Regions from separate parts of the Homo sapiens genome. Here region 1 is linked to region 2. Evidence: promoter capture Hi-C in 16 types of primary human blood cells and fetal thymus (Javierre and others, 2016). All regions are on one chromosome and are shown on one strand. The core of a region is centred on a gene start or on the middle of the fragment in contact, and the rest is flanking DNA. Distances in the headings are between cores, read along the strand shown. Region 1 has its middle 170 kb from the start of SNX13. Region 2 holds the start of SNX13 (sorting nexin 13).

Region 1 (6,551 bases), core at 980-3,479, 170 kb after region 2:
AGGGACATTGGCTCAGAGTGGCCCATGTAGGAGCTTTGCAATATGAAAAGGAATTTTGGTTGGAGTAGCTCCTGTGACATTCTCGCCATACTCCATTGAATTTGTGCCAGTCCACCTCTCCATTCTCAGGAGAGTCAAGCTGCTGTTTTGATATGCTTTCTAGGGAATATAGGCAGATCCTGGGTGCCAACAGCAGGCACACACACCAAGCTAGGAGTATGAAAAATTAGAAAGTTTGCTTTTGGTTCTGCACTTTAACACAATGGCAATAATATGAACAGACAGTGGTAGTATGCTTTCTCTTTGGACCACAGACAATGGGAATTTAACCTTAATCCTCAGTCCTGCTGCTTTCCAAAGGAAGATGAAAGGTAGTTGCAGAGTTGAGCAGACAGAATGATACGAATTTGAAAATCTCAGCAGGTGTGGGGCTCAGTGCGCTATCCTCAGGGACAGTGCTTCTCTAGATCTGTTTTCTGCTGAAGCCATCACTGTAAAACTACTGTTCATTATTTCTGTAACTTCCCCAGGACGATAAGGGATGTCAGCAATAACATGGTACATTAAACAGACCATAAATTTATCTCCAGGACTAAAATAATACTTGAGTGCAAAAATAAATGGATCTGGCTGCCTCATAAACTAAAAACTTAGTACCCAAAGGGACAAAATAAGCCCAGAAATAATTCAAAATACATAAGAAAATTCACTTCATGATAGAAGGACATCTGAAATTAGTGGGGCAAAGAGGGCAATTTAATAATGGATGTTGCGACAAATAATGAGCTTGTTCATACCTTACCTGTGTATCACAGTAAACTTAAAATACATTAAAAATCACACATTTAGAAAGAAATCCTGAAAGCACCAGAAGAAAGTATTAGGATAATTACTTTTTATCCTTGAAGTGGAGAAGGTCTAATGATGACTCAAAATCCAAAAACCATGAAATAAATAACGCAAGTACATAAAATTAAAGATAACTTTTGCATAGTAAATTATACCATAAGTACCTAAAAAGTTAAATGAAAAATTGGGAAAATTTTTTAACTCATGTAACAAAGACTAAATTCCTAATACATACAGATCCAAAATTCAATTTGAAAAAAGATTTATTTTAAACATAAAGTCAGCATATTATACACATTCTGACCCTTGCCTTTCAGCTCAGTGAAAGCTTCTTAGTTTTTCACAGCTGCGTTTCATTGGGGGAATCATAATTTCTTTAACCATTCCCCTAGTGATGAATATATGAGTTTGTTTTTCCAAATCTTCTGCCATTAAATCATTTTTCAAAAAGAAGAATTATAATGTTCAAAAGCTTAGACTCTGAAATCTGGTTGCCTGTGGGTTCGAGTTTTGGCTCTGTCAATTTCAAGCTACTTAACCTTGGGCAAGTCTTAACCTGTCTGTTTCCTCATTTGTATAAGAGATTTGAAGTTAATAGAATCAACAACAGGAGACAGTTGTGAGGATTCAGGGTGCTAATATGTAGGTAAAGGACTTAGACTAGTACCTGGAGCACAGTAAGTCCTCTGAAAGTGTTAGCTGTTATTACCACTATGTGCCAAATGGTAGAAATTGGACTAACTTTATAAACTTCTGCTTTTATAATGTTTAGGACTCATGGTAAGAGAGGCAGAACTTAAAGGGCAGATGCTGTCTCTTAATGGCAAAAAGGGAAGTCCAATGGTGAGGCAATAACTGTTTCTTGCTGTTTAATGAACAGCTGCTTAAAAATGCAGCATGTCAGTCACCAGCGTAGACATCAGTAAATGAAAGGAGTGGCTTTGAAACGTGAATTTTATTAAGTATAGCAGGAGATTCTGCTGCAGATAGACCCAGAAGACATTTTGAGAAAATAATACTATCCCCTGGGTGAACGATACTCAAACTGTAACTATAGTGCCTTAGAGAAATTGATCAGGTTCAAGCTTCATGGACGTTAAGCCATAGTTTAGATATTTAAAAACATCATAGACCAGCCCAGGGAAGAAAATTTCAATGAAGTATCAGAATGTATGATGTTAACTTTATCAAGTCATTATTACTTCATAACTACCTTCTGGGTATGTTGCTTGTTAGTGTTTTGCATTCTAATTTATACTGTAGGTCCTGAGGTCTGGAAGCTTGATTTCTAGTTTGTCCCCTAAGTCCAGGACATATTCTCTTAACACATTTTGTTAAACACATTTTAATGCTCTCTAAACACATTTTTACGTCATTTAGAGCTACTAAAGATAGAGGGAAGTTCTAATGCTTGCTTCAAGATTTTTTGTAGCCCTGTGAGATCGAGATTGGTGGTATAAAAGAAATAGTACAAGCTTTATAGTCAGTCAAATCCCAGCCCATCAATTACTAAACTGGGAAATGTTGGGAAAGTTATTAAACTTAGAAAATCAGTTTCCTCTTTTATATCATGGTGGTAATACTGTACTCTATTCCCACAGTTATTCTAGAGAATAGAGATAATGCCCATAAAGAGGAAGCCACGCAGCAGGTTTTCAATGAATGGCAGTATTATTTGATTAAAGCTGTCTTTTCTAGGGACTTCTCTTCTTGTTGTCTGATGCCCCCTCCTGGACAGTCCAGAACCTGAGCTGAGCAACTGTCAACATCACTTGCTTGAAACTAAAGGTCATGAGGTATGCAGAAGCAGTGTTTTAGGAAGAGTCTGAAATCAAAGCCAGAGCCAGTCCAACCAAGGGGCAAATCCAGAGGGTATGGTAGAGGTGGAAACCAGAGAAATTAGATGAGGGTGGAGGTGGAAGCCTGGAGGAATTGTCTGAATGACAATATAAGATATTACTTCCCACTGATAGTTACATGCCCAGAATTTACATACATTATCCCAGTTAATCTTCACCAAAATCTCATAGGACAGTGGTCCCCAACCTTTTTGGCACCAGTGACTGTTTACGTGGAAGACAACTTTTCCACAAATGGCTGCGAGTGGGATGGTTTTGAGATGAAAGTGTTCCACCTCTGATCATTGGGCATTAGTCAGACTCTCATAAGGAGCACAACCTAGATCCCTCACATGCACAGTTCACAACAGGATTCATGCTCCTATGAGAATCTAATGCCACTGCTAATCTTACAGAATGCGAGGCCAGGTGCGGTGGCTCACACCTGTAATCCCAGCACTTTGGGAGGCCGAGGTGGGCGGATCACCTGAGGCCAGGACTTTGAGACCAGCCTGACCAACATGGCGAAACCCTGTCTCTACTAAAAATATGAAAATTAGCCCGGTGTGGTGGCGTGCGCCTGTAATCCCAGCTACTTGGCAGCCTGAGGCATGAGAATCACTTGAACCTGGGAGGCAGAGGTTGCAGTGAGCCAAGATCGCACCACTGCAGTCCAGCCTGGGCAACACAGTGAGACTTTGTTTCAAAAAACAAAACAAACAAACAAACAAACAGAAAGTGGAGTTCAGGTGATAATGCTTGCTCACCCACTGCTCACCTCCTGCTGCACAGCCTGGTTCCTAACAGGCCACAGACCAGTACCGTTGATGGCCCAGGGATTGGGGGCCCCTGCTGTAAAACATAGGAGTAAATATTAATAAATTTTGATTAAGCAATAGCTTCTTACATGTGACACCAAAAACACAAAGAACCAAAGAAAAAAATAGATACATTAGACTTTATCAAAATTAAAATTAAAAATTTTGTGTTTCAAAGAGCACTATCTAGAAAGTGAAAAAACAACCCACAGGGAGAAAATATTTGTAGATTATATATCCGTTAAGAGACTTGTAACCAGAATTTCTAAATATATATATATATAAAGACTGTATAAAGAACTCTTACAACCTAATAATAAAAAGGCAAACTATTTAATTAAAAGATGGACAAAGGATCTGAATAAACATTCCTCCAAATAAGATTTACAAATAGCGTGTGAAAAAGAAGTTCAACATCATTAGTCATTAGGGAAATAAAAACCAAAGCCACAATGAGTTAGTACCTCATATTCACTAGAATGACATTAATAAAAAAGATAAAGACATGGAGAAATACAAAACTGATGGGAATGTAAAATGGTGCAGCCCCTTTAAAAAACAGTGTGGCAGCTCTTCAAAATGTTTAGCATCGAGCTACCATAATACCCAGCAGTCATGCCCAGATTTATACGCAAGGGAAATGAAAACATATATCCACACAAATTCTTGTACACGAATGTTTATAGCAGCACTATTAATAACAACCCGAAGATGGAGGCAACACAAATATCCATCAATGAATGTATAAATAAAATGTATTTATACAATGGAATTTTATTTGGTTGTAACAAGGAAAAAGTTTTAATACAGTCTACAATATGGATAGAACTTGAAAATACTATGCTAAGTGAAAGAAACTAGTCACAAAAGGCCACATAATGTATAATTTCATTTATATGAAATGACCCAACAGGGAAATTCCATGGAAACACAAAGTAGATTAGTGTTTACCAGGGGCTGCGGGAAGGAAGAGAGCTGGGGAGTGACTGCTAATGGATATGTAGTTCCTTTCTGGGGTGATGAAAACATTCTAGAATTAAATAGTGGGGATGGTTGCATAATTTTATGAATATACAGACATACCTCATTTTATTGTACTTCTTCACAAACTGAAAGTTTCTGGCAATCCTGTGTCAAGCAAGTCTTAATCATTGGCATCCTCCAATGAAATATACCTGCTTTGTGTCTCTGATTCACCTTTTGGTAATTCTTTTTAATATGTCAAACTTTTATTATAATTTTTAAATTTTATTTTAAATTTTATTTTTCCATAAGTTACTGGGGTACAGGTAGTATTTGGTTACATGAGTAAGTTCTTTAATGGTGATTTGTGAGATTTTGGTGCACCCATCACCCAAGAAGTATACACTGCACCATATTTATAATCTTTTATCCCTCGCCCCCCTCCCACCCTTCCCCCCAAGTCCCCAAAGTCCATTGTATCACTCTTATGCCTCTGCATCCTCATAGCTTAGCTCCCACATATCAGTGAGAACATACGATGTTTGGTTTCCATTCCTGAGTTACATCACTTAGAATAATAATCTCCAAGGCCAGGCGTGGTGGCTCACGCCTGTAATCCCAGCACTTTGGGAGGCCAAAGTGGGCGGATCACCTGAGGTCAGGAGTTCTAGACCAGCCTGGTCAACATGGTGAAACCCCACTTCTACTAAAAATACAAAAATCAGCCAGGTGTGGTGGTGGGCATCTGTAATCCCAGCTACTTGGGAGGCTGAGGCAGGAGAATCACTTGAATCCGGGAGGCAGAGGTTGTGGTGAGCCAAGACCACACCATTGCACTCCAGTCTGGGAAACAAGAGTGAAACTCTGTCTCAAAAAAAAAAAAAAAATAATAATAATAATAATAATAGTCTCCAATCTCATCTAGGTCACTGCAAATGCTGTTAATTAATTCCTTTTTATGGCTGTGTAGTATTCAATTGTATATATGTACCACAGTTTCTTTATCTACTCATTGATTGATGGGCATTTGGGTTGGTTCCACGATTTTGCAATTGTAACTTGTGCTGCTATAAACATTCATATGCAAGTATCTTTTTTGAATAATGACTTCTTTTCACCCAGTAGTGGGATTGCTGGGTCAAATGGTAGTTCTACTTTTAGTTATTTAAGGAACCTCCACACTGTTTTCCTTAGTGCCTGTACTAGTTTACATTCCTACCAGCAATGTGGAAGTGTTCCCTGTTCACTGCATCCGCACTAACATCTACTGTTTTTTGATTTTTTGATTATGGACGTTCTTGCAGGAGTGAGGTGGTATCACATAGTTGTTTTGATTGGCATTTCCCTGATCATTAGTGATGCTGAGCATTTTTTTGTATGTTTGTTGGCCATTTGTATATCTTCTTTTGAGAATCGTCTATTCATGTCCTTAGCCTACTTTTTGATGGGATCTTTTGTTTTTTTCTTACTGATTTGTTTGAGTTCATTGTAGATTCTGGGTATTAGTCCTTTGTCAGATGTATAGATTGTGAAGATTTTCTCCTACTCTGTGGGTTGTCTGTTTACTCTGCTGACTGTTCCTTTTGCCATGCAAAAGCTCTTTAATTATGTCCCAGCTGTTTATCTTTGTTTTTATTGCATTTGCTTCTGGGTTATTGGTCATGAAATCCGTGCCTAAGCGAATGTCTAATAGGGTTTTTTCCAGTGTTATATTCTAGAATTTTTATAGTTTCAGGTCTTAGGTTTAAGTCCTTAATCTATCTTGAGTTGATTTTTGTATAAGGTGAGAGATGAGGATCCAGTTTCATTCTCCTACATGTGGCTAGCCAATTATCCCAGCACCATTTGTTGAAAAGGGTGTCCTTTTCCCACTTTATGTTTTTGTTTGCTTTGTTGAAGATCAGTTGGCTGTAAGTATTTGGGTTTATTTCTGGGTTCTCTATTCTGCCCCATTGGTCTGTGTGCCTGTTTTTATACCAGTACCATGCTGTTTTGGTGACTATGGCCTTATAGTATAGTTTGAAATCAGGTAGTGTGATGCCTCCAGATTTGTTCTTTTTGCTTAGTCTTGCTTTGGCTATGC
Region 2 (7,511 bases), core at 4,449-6,948:
TTCTCTTTTCCTTTATGTTTTAGGGCTATGAAACTATTCTGTATGATACTATAAAGTGGAGACCTGACATAATGCATTTGTCAGAACTTGCAGAACTTTGCAGCACAAAGAGTGAAAATGTATGCAAATTAAAAATCAAATCATTTAGGAGGTAGGCAGATCTCAGGAAAGAATGCTGACTTTGACAAGAGAATTTAAATGTATTGCAAACATATGAAACAACCTCAATGAAAGGGTTGGGAGAAAAGGTGCTGAACTAAGTGACTTTAGGAATGATTTGTCTATAAGACTGAAGGGACTGCATGTAGGCAATGTACTCTAGTTGATAAATTTGTTTCCAATGGGAGTATGGGTTAACAATTCTGAAATTGCCATATATGTATTTTCAAACTGAACAATTAAGTAAATGGATGGTAGATGTTAGGTGTCAGTTTCTCACTGTTGAAGTGGAAATTACATACAGATAAGCTAGGGGAAGAGACTAGAATGATCCATCTGATAATGGATTAGAGTTGGAGATACCAGTATGAATTCACATTTAGCTTAATATAAATACAGATGATTACATGCAGAAATATTTATACATAGGCATATATACATGGGTTAATATACAAGTATTTAATTCCTTGCTGTGTCAGCTACGAGGTCTTAAAAGAATTGACACTGAAGCAGCAAACAGCACTTCTTGAGCCCAGATTTTGGTTTCTGACACCATTCTCCAATAAAAGAAACCAAGATTTCTGAAAGATATGGCTAATTCTAGGCCTGGGGCATGATGACCCCAGAGCATCTTATAGTACTAGAAAGTAACCATGTGCTTAAAAACAAAACTAACCAAACAAAAAACCATACCACATTGATGGGAGTATATTAAAAGGAAATAGGACAACTAAGAGAGCTCCAGTGGCCAAAGCTGGGACAATTTGAACAACAAAGTAGTATTAGATTATAACTCAAAGTATAAAACAAATATTTATATGTCCATACTCATATACATAAATGATTAAATAAAAAGGGAGAAAAGACAAATCTCCCATGCAAAAAAAAAATGCCACATAATTTATCTACATATTCCACCAGCAAAAGGAGAAGCAGAAATCCCCACTCTTTAAGTGTGGGCTGCACATAGTGATTTCCATCCAAGGAGGATAGCATAGAACGGGGGAAAATGGTAACTTTACAGTGGAGAAACTTGACAAACACTATCTCATTCAGGTGATAAAGGTCAACATCACCAGTGATAAATCATGTTGATAGTATGAATCCTTGATAGGTAATGTGGTGCAAATTACTAAACCTCTAGTGGCCTCTAAGGGTAGTGATCTACTGTAATGGTCTTTTTCAAATGTTAAATATAATACATGCAAAATGTCTACCACCAGTGCCTGGCCCATAATAGATACTGAAAAACAGTATCCATAATTAAGAATTAAATGTTTGAAAAGTGCTCTAAATTTTTGTTTTCAAAATGATTGACTGAGGTGTCATTGATGTAGTAATACCTCTTAATTATTTTATAGACTTTTACAAATTTATAATGTGGTTCTTTCTATTTAGATCTTTGCATTGTGGAGCTAATATTGAAAGCATTTGTGTACATTATTATTTTGTTATGGCTGCATTTGTTAGTAAAGCCTCATATTATTTCTGCTTCTGTCTTTCTGTCTTGAGTTGGCTCAACATTGCCTCAAAAAGAATCATGCAAGAAAAAAGTACATGCTGGGCTAGACTTCAGAGTACTCTTAAATGCTCTGAGATTTCTGCTTACTACTGCCCTATTAAAGCTGTAAAAAAGAATCGGGATATCCAACTCTTATCTGTTCTTAGGATGTCTCCTCTGTTGTCAATGCATGATTTCAATACCAATTTGCAGGTTTTGACACCAATCCTTGTTAATGAGTATATAGTATTTAATGTTCAGTAGAGATGGTAGATGACACTGACAATATTGCATTATGAAGAAACTGGAGTTAATAGAATGCTTTAAGACATCAAAAGATTAAATGACACAACTGTTTGCTAGATGCAATTTGCCTAGGAGGTTAAAGGCATACTTTTCCTGCTTCTCAAAAAGCAATTAGAGCCAATTTGTGACAACCTGAATATGTAGAAGAAATTGTTTTTGTTTCAAAACTAAAAAACAGGCAACTTGGATATTCCGAATTTTTGCTTGTAGGTTTAGAAATCACTGGCAGTGGCTTGTTTAAAAGCATCTTACGGCCGGGCGCGGTGGCTCACGCCTGTAATCCCAGCACTTTGGGAGGTGGAGGCGGGCGGATCACAAGGTTAGGAGACGGAGACCATCCTGGCTAACATGGCGAAACCCTGTCTCTACTAAAAATAAAAAAATAAAAATAAAAAAAATTAGCCGGGCATGGTGGCAGGCGCCTGTAGTCCCAGCTACTCGGGAGGCTGAGGCAGGAGAATGGCGTGAACTCGGGAGGCGGAGCTTGCAGTGAGCAGAGAGCGCCACTGCACTCCAGCCTCGGTGACAGAGCGAGACTCCGTCTCAAAAAACACACTTGACTTTTGCCTCTTACCTCTTTTTGTCATGCTTTCCTGTGTTAATCAGACAGACTGGACACTGCTGCTGAGGAATCAAACCTTTTGCAGTAACAGTCACAGATGCATCCCTTACGATAGCTTGCTTTGTTTTAATTTCTGATAGCCAAAGAACCAGGCATCTCAGATCACCCTGTCCCAGGTTTCCTCTGTAACAACTGATATGAATAGGATGTTTTTAAGACATGGAATCTGTATCAAATTAGGTGCTTTTTTTTTTTAAGCTAGCTGTTTCTATAAGCATTCTCTTTTCCAACTATATAACTCCTTAATTTCCGTAAGTCTCTTAAATAGTATACCTTATTCGCTTTGTTGCTTCCCTTCCTAGGAAATTAACTTTGACTCATGCCCAAGATGTATTTAAGAAAGTGAAGGAGGCCAGGTGTGGTGGCTCATTCCTGCAATCCCAGCACTTTGGGAGGTCAAAGCCTGAGGATCTTTGAGGCCAGGAGTCCAGAGACTAGTCTGGCAACATAGTGAGAACACATCTCTACAACAAATTTAAAAAAAGGAAAAGAAAAAAGGTGAAGGAAAAGGCATAGCTCACAATTTTGTCCTAAACTTTTCTGTAGCATTCTAGTGGAAGTAACAATTGTCATACACTTCAACATTCCAGTGGCAGAAGTGATGTTCCTATTAATTGGAAGACAAGAGAACACACAATGGCCAACTTTTAAATAATTTAATCTTTCAACACCAAGGATTTTGTTTTTAAATAGTTTTAATTAGGTCTTTTCCTTTTAGTGTCTTTTAGGCAATGATTCACCCATTCATTTATTCACTTAAGAAATATTTATTGAGCATCTACTCTGTGCCATCTACTATTCTAGTATTTTAGGTACTAAGGAAACATTGAACAAAATGAAAAAAAAAAAATCCCCGATCTTGTGGAGCTTACATTCTAGCGGAGGGAAGGCAATAGAAAATAAAAATAGAAAATGACGATGTTAGAAGGTTAGAAGGTAAGTACTATGAAAAAAACAGAAGCAAGGAAGGGAGGATTCTGGGGAAGGGGCAATATTTTAAATGAGATGATTAGGGTAGGCTTCTTTGAAAAAAGATGACTTTTAAGCAAAGATTGGACAGAAGTGGAAGATCTAGCCATGCAGGTATTTGGTGGAAAGATCTTTGCAGATAGAAACTATACACAGTGTAAGGGCCTCAGGGCAAGAAGATGCCTTGGTGTTACAGAAGCAGGGAGCAGGTCTGTGTAACTGGAACAAAGTGCTTAGCAGAAATGAGGTCAGAGGGGTGGAGGTGAGGTAGGACTTGGGAGGCCAGCTAGCATAGGATTTTTAGGTTGCAGAAAAGACTCAGGCTGAGAAAATTAGGAAGCCATTGGAAGAGCGACTACTTTTGGTTTCCTTGTAAGTCTGTAGACAAACTTCTGAAAGTTAAAGGCATATTCATGTCATATCACAGATTGGTTCAATACTCAAGTGTCAACACTTAATGCCTTGCTTCTAGAAAAGATAAAAAGATGTAGTAAATAAAACTGAATACTCAAGCCAGACAACTACATTGCTGTTTTAATTTACTAGCTGGTATCTTAAATATTAATGAACCTCCTTCTCTGTTTTCTTATTTACAGGTTGGAACACTATCTTTTTCCAGGTTCCTTGTTGTCTCTAGTATCTCTTGGTATCCTTTGATACCTCAGTCCAGGTAGGATTTCCATGCTCATTTTCTATTTGTGGCTTCATCTGTCAATACCAGTAACACATTTTATTGTATTGCAGAGGTCAGAATTTTGCTGGTCCAGCAATGTGGAAATGATGTACAAAATGCAGATTAAAACAACAAGAAAAACTACTTTGCTTCAATTAGTTGAATTGAGCAAAATCAGTTTTTCTTGAATTTTTTGCATGACTGCTTAAATGAACCGTTTTGTTTCCTTGACACGATAGAGATAATACAAGGTTTGCAATGCCCTTATTGTTTTGAGACTGTAAGAGTAATACATTAAGTAAATTTCATTTAGCACAACAGTACTATTGTTAAATGGAGGGAAAAGATTCTGGTAAAAGGGAAGAAACTCCTGGCTTTAGTTTTCTAAAATGCTTTTGTACCTCTTGTAAGAATGACATGGAGGTGTTTTTAATGTCAAGTCTGAAAATTTGCTTTTCAATTTACTTGGAAACTGGTTTCTAATACAAAACAGGGTAGCACACTTTCCCAGCATGTTCAGGTAAACTACTTTCATCACAATTCAGGTAGAAGTGACTGCCTTTAATTCCGTACATCGCAAACCATCTAGTGGTAGATCTAGAATGGCGTCAGTCTCAGGGACTTCTATGCACATTGAGTTCCAGAGTTCAATTCCATTTAAGTTGGGACTATTTACAATGACATTTGCTGAAATTTGCTCACCTTGATATACAAGCATATTGTATTAAGCAGCTAGTAAACCTGTGGAGATAGCAGGTAAAACGTAAAGCCTGTTTTACGTTTTTTTAGAGGTGCATTACTTGTAGCATAACTAAACCTTCATTGTTAGGCAGGTGCTGGCCAATTACATCAGCAAGTCCTAACTCCGCTAGGATCGGGGTAAAGCCGATAAGCCGCATCATATCTACAACCTGTCTCGGACCCCTGTAAAGAACTCACTGAGGATTGGTAGGGACAAAGGGAAGTTTCTGTCAAAGTTTAGGAGAAAAGGGCCGCGCAGGGAGCTGTTTCAAATAACACTTAAATCCCAGGAGAAGAAAGCCGAACCCCAACTCTTCGGTCGCCGCGGGGCCAGGGAGACGCGAGAGGGAAGTTTTTCTAAAGGAAATCTGCCGCCTTGTCCCCAAGACCAGCGAGGTCCGCAGCGCCATCAGTCAAGTGTCGGCCTCTGGCATTTTCTCCTCTCCCCAGGGCGGGCCAACGCTAGTGGGCGGTGGATGATGCGCCGGCCCCAAGGGCGCGCACGTCCATTCCCGGAAGGCTCGGGCGCTGGGGCCCCTCTGCACTCCCAGCGGTCCCAAGTTGGCCCAGGCGCCCGGTCCCGGGGTCCTACAAGTCAGCGCCAAGCCGACTGCCGACAGCCTACCTCCGCTTCTCCGCGCGCCGGCGCTATGGAGACGGTCACGAGACGCCAGCAGCCCCTGCGCCCGCCAATGGGAACGCACGTTGCAGCGAGACGCGGACGTCGCTCTTCCAAGATGGCGGCGCGTCCGTCGCGAGCGACCGGGCCGAGGGGAGGCCAGCGAAGCCGAGTAAAACCGCCGCCCGGGAGAAGACTGAAGGAGCAGTTGCCGCCGTTGGCGGCGGCCCGAGCAGTTTTCGCTGCTGCTACGGCTGTTGCCATGAGGCGAGGCTAGGGAGGACCTCACTTCCCCGGGGTGTAATAATGTTAACTGAGGTAAGCGGCGACGGTGGCCAGTGTTTACCTGTGAAATGGGGAAGGGGCCGGCGCCAGCCCGTCAGAGAACATCATCTGTACGGAAGGTGGGCCTGACCCTTCGCCGTGGGCTCCAGGGCCCGAGGAGCAGCGGGGATCCTACAAGTGCCCTCAGAGTAGGAGCTGTGCTGACTCAACAGAGTCCCACCACCTCCGGCTGCCAGTGCCTCGCCTTTCGCAGTTGCCACTTGCCACTCGCCCCTGGCACTGGTCTCCCTCCTGCTGTCACTCCCTTCTAACTCATCGCTCCCTTCTTCGTGTCCCCTTACACGCTACTCTGTGGCAGCGTTGGCCTTTCCACGTTACTGCTGGTTCTTGTGATCCTATGGTTTGCCCTAGGTCTCCTTTCTCTGGTCCCTGGGCTCCAGGGCCCTCCGCCTCCGAGCTCGGTCAGCACCCTGGGGTTGTTGCTCGGCCCGACCGGTTTGTTTCCCACCCTCTACTTTGACTGCTTCATGAAGTGGACTTTTTTATCTCAAGCTGCACATGTATGGCTCAGTTGGGTCATCCCCCTCCCCCACATCCATCACCTTTTCGGTTAAATCGTGGTCATCACAAAGTTCAGTTTAGCATCTGCCACCTTGATTTGCGTGTGGCCCCCTTGTTACTCCCTATGGAATAGTTTTTTTCTTTGGACCTGAAATGGAAGTAGGGCAACTATGACGAACCAATCAATTTCCCTTTTCTAGTGCCTAATGGGCATTGCAAAAAGCCGACTTTTTGAAGAAGTAGAGTTTGCCTTTACTAGCAACACTTTAAGGGGAAGAACTAAATCGGTGCAACTAGGTACTTGACCCAGGTTAGCCCAGTTATGTGTTGTAGTATCTGCAGGTGTAGGTGTCACTGAACATAAAATACTGAACCTTGTGATTTGATGAAATACCTTTTTCGAAGCCTTTCACTTTAAGTACTGTGAGGATCCTGACGTGAGGAACTGACCGGATTGGGCATTTTTATGGGCTGAACTGAATAGGAAACAGTTTTAGTGGGCAATGGGAAGTATTCCTACATGGGCCAAAAAGGAAATACAAACATTTGTAGGTGAGTGGCTTTTATTTTGTGAAAAGTGATGGTAAAGCACGTACTTGCCTGAAATTTCAGGTCCTTGGAACGTGACTAACTTTGAGGAACTTTATACTTTGCTGTTTGTACTTAATCTAAGCACAGAGCCTGGCATATGATAAATACTTACTGGTTGATTGTAACTTCTACAGTACGTATTTTTAGTTGTTTGAAGTTCATTTTATATTTCTAAATTCTACAGATTTTTCATTCTTGGAGTTAATTGAGATTATGGTTATAGCATAAGTTTGTGTTGTGATTAGCAGTAATAGATTAGAAAAAAGAGTTATAAGTAGCAGAAGTTTCATTTTTACCTTAAGTGTGATATTTTAGTGGGAACAGTTAGCCTTATAATAAGTGTTTAGTGTTGTCTCTAATGTGTAATATTATATGATATGATCTTTTCCTTAAACTTAGCTTATGTTAACATGTTTCAGAGTTTTAATACTTTCAAATGAACTACTTGTGTGTCTGCCAGTAAAATGATTTGGAAAGATGGAGC

Evidence for each region. Contacts are between HindIII fragments. The CHiCAGO score rates a contact against its expected background, and 5 or more counts as called.
Region 1: a fragment that was not itself captured here is called in contact with the fragment with the promoter of SNX13 in region 2 in 2 of 17 cell types (megakaryocytes and M1 macrophages); the score reaches 5.9 in megakaryocytes.

The regions. Positions count from the first base shown.
Region 1 is chr7:17,766,058-17,772,608 of GRCh38, reverse strand. No RefSeq gene overlaps it. Among named protein-coding and RNA genes, the nearest start is that of SNX13, 170 kb to the left of the region's middle. The HindIII fragment of the contact is 195 bases long and covers 2,132-2,326 here.
Region 2 is chr7:17,938,681-17,946,191 of GRCh38, reverse strand. SNX13 (sorting nexin 13) reads left to right here and starts at 5,698. Exons shown (of 26, transcript NM_015132.5): 1 at 5,698-5,908. The coding sequence starts at 5,897. The HindIII fragment of the contact is 12,825 bases long and covers 1-7,511 here.